2 separate regions of the Homo sapiens genome follow, and region 2 is linked to region 1. Evidence: promoter capture Hi-C in human tissues and cell types (Jung and others, 2019). All regions are on one chromosome and are shown on one strand. Each heading gives the region's core, a stretch centred on a gene start or on the middle of the fragment in contact. The rest is flanking DNA. Distances are from core to core; before and after follow the strand shown. Region 1 holds the start of CEMP1 (cementum protein 1). Region 2 has its middle 42 kb from the start of ABCA3.

Evidence for each region. Contacts are between HindIII fragments. The study calls those that stand out against the background at their distance.
Region 2: a fragment that was not itself captured here is called in contact with the fragment with the promoter of CEMP1 in region 1 in 2 of the 25 tissues and cell types used here (dorsolateral prefrontal cortex and lymphoblastoid cells).

What each region holds. Positions count from the first base shown.
Region 1 is chr16:2,530,018-2,533,314 of GRCh38, reverse strand. It overlaps CEMP1 (cementum protein 1), which reads left to right and starts at 1,907. Exons shown (of 1, transcript NM_001048212.3): 1 at 1,907-3,280. The coding sequence starts at 2,242. The coding sequence ends at 2,985. AMDHD2 (amidohydrolase domain containing 2) reads right to left here. Exons shown (of 11, transcript NM_001330449.2): 11 at 1,898-3,297. MIR3178 (microRNA 3178) reads left to right here and starts at 1,310; the gene lies at 1,310-1,393. RefSeq lists enhancers at 625-674, 1-676, 1,455-1,504. The HindIII fragment of the contact is 25,225 bases long and covers 1-3,297 here.
Region 2 is chr16:2,381,205-2,384,258 of GRCh38, reverse strand. It overlaps the pseudogene ABCA17P. Among named protein-coding and RNA genes, the nearest start is that of ABCA3, 42 kb to the right of the region's middle. The HindIII fragment of the contact is 4,418 bases long and covers 1-3,054 here.

The sequences.
Region 1 (3,297 bases), core at 658-3,157:
ACAGAATGAGACTCCGTGTTAAAAAAAAAAAAAAAAAAAGGCTGGGCACAGTGGCTCACGCCTGTAATCCCAGCACTTTCAGAGGCCTAGGCGGGCGAATCAATTGAGGTCAGGAATTCAAGACCAGCCTGGCCAACATAGTGAAACCCTGTCTCTACCAAAAATACAAAAAAATTAGTCAGGTGTGGTGGCGTGCGCCTGTAATCCCAGCTACTAAGGGGGCTGAGGCGGAGAATCGCTTGAACCCGGGAGGCGGAAGCTGCAGTGAGCAGAGATCGCACCACTGCACTCCAGCCTGCGCAACACAGCCAGGCTCCGTCACACACACACAAACCGAACTGCAAAGTAATAGCAAAAGTGTAAACCCATTTAGAAAAAACGTGTGTGACATAAATGTGATAAAAGGAACAGGGCCAGTCTGGGAGGGAGTACCCGGACGCTCCGGAGCTGTCCCAGACTCCAGGGGCGGAAAAGCCGGGCTGAAGAGGTGCCCTTCCTCCACGCTTCTGGTGCCAATCTCCCCTGCTGCGCCCACCCTGGGTCCCTAGCCTGGGCTCCAAACCAACTCCGAGCTAGGGAAGCTCCGAGCCAGGGTGCTTCTAGAGTGTCCGGCCCACCCCTCCGCTTCATTTCCCAAGACAGTGAGGGCGGGGCTAGAGGCCAGGTGCGGAGGTGCGGGACAGGAGCCAAGCTGGGTCGTAGTGGGATCCACCTGTGCGTGATACGTAACAGAAGGGAGAGGCGAGGCGCGGGGAGGTCCGCAGGGATGTGGGAGACGCGACGGGGAGGACTGGGACGAAACAAACTAGGTCCGCAAGGGTATAAGGGGAGCAGCTCGGAGGGTTGGGGCGAGGCGGGGTCTACAGGGGTGTGGGGGGCTTGGCAGGGAGCGCTGGGGCGACGCGGAGCTCCGCAGCGTTGGCGGGGAGCGTTGTGGGGAGACGGGGTCTGCAGGAATGTGAGGGCGCGGTGGGGAGCGTAGCGGGGTATGCAAGGTTGTGAGGGTTGTGGATGGGAGGGCTGGGGCGAGGCGGGGTCCGCAGAGATGTGGGGGGCGCAGAGATGGGGGGGGTCCGCGGGCCCGCCGGGGACCGCGCAGCCTCGGGCTCTGTGCCCGGGGCCGCGCGGGTTAACTAGAGAAGGTGACGCGCGCCCCTGTTGCTCAGCCGCGGCGCGTGCCTTCCCTGCGGCGATCCTAATTGGCCCGACAGAAGCCCGCCCCCAGAAGCCCCTCCCACAGTAGGCAAGGCCCCGCGTGCCGCAACGCTCCCAGAGTTGCGCGTCAGCCTGGACTCAGCGCCTGCGCTACGAGGCTGGGCGGGGCGCGGCCGGATCGGTCGAGAGCGTCCTGGCTGATGACGGTCTCCCGTGCCCACGCCCCAAACGCAGTCTCTGGCCTGGATGTGCTCGGAGCCCACGAGGTGCAGAGGCTCGGACGGCGAAAGGGACCTGGCTGAGATCTGGGTCTTAAACCGCGGGCTCGGCCCAGCATCCCGGCAGCGTGCGCCCACAAGTGACACCCGGCCGGGCGCGGTCTGCGGGATCGCAGGCGCCGGGTCTCATCTCCAGTTCACACACGGGACGAAACGGGCCACCCCTACCAGCTCTGAGAGCATGCACCTCCAACTCCATCCCTCCCCACATGCCCGACCCCCCAACCCGTAACTCAGGCAGACACCTGGGCGTCCCCCTTCAGCGAATGCCCACACCGCGGGCAGGCCTGCCCCTCACCCCGCAGTCAGGGCGCCCTGCATCCTTCTTTGTAAAACCCATAGCTGTAGAGGGAGCGGAATGGTGGGGCAGGGCTGGGAGCCCAGCGGGAGTGAGTGGTGGGGAATGATGGTGGCCAAGGTCACACAAAGCAGTGAATTCACTTCATGTCACAGAACTGCTCAGGTTACGATAGTTACTTTTGTTATGTATTTTACCACAATTTTTAAAAAGCAAACCAAAACCAACCAAGAGTGCTTCCCCCACACCTCAAAATCATCCTGCAGCAGCTCCCTGGCCCAGCTCTCTCTCACCCTGACCCTGGGCCCCTCTCCCACCACCCAGGGCTAGCCCTGTGGACCAACCATCTCTGCCAGCCCCTCCCCGACCCTCCAGCCAGGGAGGTGGGGCGCTGGCCGGTGAATGGGGCAGGCCAGGCCCAAAGGCTGGCCCAGGGCTCACCAGCTCTGGACTGGGCGTCCCGTCTGAGGTGGGGATGACCAACATGCCAGCTCTGGGTTTTAGCTGAGGATGGGCACATCAAGCACTGACAGCCAGCAAGCTGGGCACAGGCGATGCTCAACCTCTAACACATCGGCTGAGAACCTCACCTGCCTCTCCCTGCCTGGGAGCCCTGGCAAGACAGCTCCTCTCCCAGGCCCAGCACAGGCAGGCGCTGGACAGCCACTTCCTAAGGGGTGCGCGGCCGTCAAGGCAGAGGTGGGTATCCCTGCACCTCACACCTCTCAGGAGGTCAGGATCCACATCCGTCGCCTGCTTTCCTGGGCTGCCCCTGGGGCTTGTGGGCTGAGATCAACCCCTTGTGCCCTGCCCCAGGCCCTCCCTCAGGCGAGGCCCTGCCCAGGCAGGTGGTTCTTCCCTGGCTGTTCCCTTCCAACAGGTGGGGCCCAGACCATCCTATCTCTTTGGACCTGGAGACATTTCCTTAACTGGGCTTTGCAGCAGAGGGAAGAGAACAGTGGCAGAGCCAGGCGCGTACCTCCTGTGCCCAGGACAGCACCTGTAAGCAAGGGGGAAGGGAGCCACCCACCCCAGAACTCAAATGGAGAGAAAGTCAAGACAATCACCCCTGACGTGGGGCTGCACCAATCCCTGACGTCTGACCCCACTGTGGCTGTCCTCAGAGCCAAGAGGGCTCCAGAAGCCCACCCGCCTCGAAGCTGTTCAGGGAGCCTCACGGCCCGTGTTTGCCACATGGGTGTGTGCCAGGGCCAAGGGGACACAGAAGATGGCAGGATGACACTAATGGGGTGAGCAGGGCACACTGGTGCCTCCCATACTGCCCTCCAGCACCAGGCAGGGTCACCACAGCCGGCAAGCACTGGGCCTGGGGATGTGTGAAGAGATAGGGTTATTGAGAAGAGAAAACAGAACGCTGGTCATCCGTGGCACTCAGGGCTAGGCAGTCCAGGGAGCAGAAAACAGGGGTCCCGGGCCCAGTCTCCCTCCTGGAGGTCAGAGCGGAGCCCCTGGCACTGTGCCCTGGCCCAGAACCAGGCTGTGGGCTCCACGCTGCACACCCCAACTCAGGAGCAGAAAGCAAACCCCTGACTGTCCACACTCCCT
Region 2 (3,054 bases), core at 272-2,771, 150 kb after region 1:
CTTTTGTGTTCATAGATTGGAACACTTAATTTTGTTAATATGACATTACTATCCAAAGCAATCTAGAGGCTGGGTGCAGTGGCTCATACCTGTAATCCCAGCATTTTGGGAGGCCGAAGTGGGTGGATCACCTGAGGTCAGGAGGTCGAGATCAGCCTGGCCAACATGGTGAAACCCTGTCTCTACTAAAAATACAAAAAAATTAGCCAGGCATGGTGGCACACACCTGTAATCCCAGCTACTCGGGAGTCAGAGGCAGGAGAATCGCTTGAACCCAGGAGGCAGTGGTTGCAGTGAGCTGAGATTGAGCCTTTGCACTCCAGCCTAGGCAACAGAGCAAGACTCCATCTCAAAAAAATAAAAATAAACACAAAGCAATCTAGAGATTCAATGTAATCCCTACTAAAATTCCAATACCTTATTATTATTATTATTATTTTTTTTTTTTGCAAAAATAGGCAAGCTGATCCTAAAAATTCATATAGAAATGCAAGGGACTCAGAATAGCCAAAACAATCTTAAAAAGAAGAACAAAGTTGGAGGACTCATATTTCCTAATTTCAAAACTTCCTAGAAAGTTACAGTCATTGAGACATTGTGGTACTGGCATAACAACCGACATATGGAACAATGGAATAGAATTGGGAGTCTAGAAACAATCCCATATATCTATGGTAAATAGACTTTTTACAAGGATGCCATGACCATTCAATGGGGAAGGAATAGTCTTTTCAACAAATAGTGCTGAGACAACTTAATATCTATATGAAAAAGAATAAATGTAGACCCATACCTCACACCATATACAAAAATGTACTCATAATGGACCAAAGATCTAAATCTAAGAACCAAAGCTATGAAATCTTAAAAAGAAATATAAGTATAAATCCTAGACGATAATTTTTAAAATATAATAGCAAAAGCGTAAGTAACAAATAAAAAAAAGATAAATTAGATTTCATCAAAATTTAAAACTTTTGTTTTAAATTTAAAAATACTATCAATAAAGGGAAAAGACAATCCACAGAGTAGGAGAAAATATTTGCAAATCATATAACTAACAAGGGCCTAGGATCTAGAATATACACTTAAAAACTTTTTACAGGCTGGGTGCGGTGGCTCACGACTATAATCTCACTTAGCACTCTGAAAGACGAAGGCGAGAGGATCATTTGAACTCAGGAGTTTGAGACCAGCCTGGGCAACATGGTAAAACCCCATTTTTACAAAAAAATACGAAAATTAGCCAGGCAATTGGCCTGTACCTGTGGTCCCAGCTACTTGCGAGGCTGAGGCAGGATGATCACTTGAGCCTGGGAGGCAGAGATTGCAGTGAGGTGAGATCCTGTCACTGCACTCCAGCCTGGGCAACAAAGTGAGAGGTGAGAGGCTGTCTCAAAAAAAAAAAAAAAAAAAGCTGGGCACAGTGGCTCACATCTGTAATCCCAGCACTTTGGGAGGCTGAGGCTGGTGGATCGCCTGAGGTCAGGAGTTTGAAACCAGCCTGGCCAACATGGTGAAACCCTGTTTCTACTAAAAATACAAAAAAAAAAAAAAAAAAAAAAAATCAGTCAGGCGTGGTGGTGCACGTCTGTAATCCCAGCTGCTGAGGAGGCTAAGGCAGGAGAATCGCTTGAACCTGGGAGGCAGAGGATGCAGTGAGCCAAGATCGCACCATTGCACTCCAGCCTGGGTGACAGAGTGAGACTTCATCTCAAAAAAAAAAAAATGGAAAGAAAACAAAAACAAAAAAAACTCTTACAGCTCAACTACAAAAAGATAAAGAACCCAACCAAAAAAACAGGCAAAGGACTGGAATAGATATCTCTCCAAAGAAGTATACAAATAGCCAATAAGCACATGAAGAGATGCTCAACATTATTAGTCAACAGAGAAATGCAAATCAAAACCACAAGGTACTACTTCACACTAACGGCAATTTCTCAAAAAGTAAAACAAACAAACAAACAAAAAAGTTAAACATAGAGTTACCATCTGACCCATTAATTTCACTTATAGGTATTTACCCAAAATAACTGAAAATAGGTGTTCAAACAAAAACGTGAACACTAATGTTCATAGCAGCACTATTCACAATAGCCAAAGGGTGAAAGCAACCCGATGTCCATCAGCTGAGGAATGGGCAAACATTCAGGTGAGTAGAATGGATATTATGCAGCTATTAAAAGGAGTGAAGTACAAATATATACTAAAATATGGATAAACCTTGAAAACATTATGTTAAGTGAAATAAGCCAGACATAAAAAGCCACATATTGTATGACTCCATTTATATGAAATATCCAGGATAGGCAAACCCATAGAAACAGAAAGCAGATTAGTGGTTGCCAGGGACTAGGGGAAGGGAGCAATGGGAAGTCACTGATAATGTGTATAAGTTTATTTTGTGGGCAATGAAAATGTTCTGCAATAAGATAGTGGTGATGGTTACATGGCATTGTGAGTATACAGGCTGGGCACGGTGGCTCATACCTGTAATCCTAGCACTTTGGGAGGCTGAGGTGGGTGGATCACTTGAGGTCAGGAGTTTGAGACAAGCCTGGCCAACATGGCGAAACCCCATCTCTACTAACAATATAAAAATTAGGCCAGGCCCAGCACTTTGGGAAGCCGAGGCGGGTGGATCATGAGATCAGGAGATTGAGACCATCCTGGCCAACATGGTGAAACCCTGTGTCTACTAAAAATACAAAAATGCTGGGTGTGGTGGCATGCGCCTGTAGTCCCAGCTACTCAAGAGGCTGAGGCAGGAGAATCACTTGAACCCGGGAGGCAGAGGTTGCAGTGAGCCAAGATTGCGCCACTGCACTGCAGCCTGGGTGACAGAGTGCGACTCCGTCTCAAAAAAAAAAAGCACACACACACACAAATTAGCTAGGCATGGTTGCAGGTGCACGTAATCCCAGCTACTTGGGAGGCTGAGGCACGAGAATCGCTTGAACCCAGGAGGTGGAGGCTGCAGCGAGCTGAGATGGTGCTACTGCATTCCAGCCTGGGCAACAGAGTGAGACTCTGAAAAAAACAACAACAACA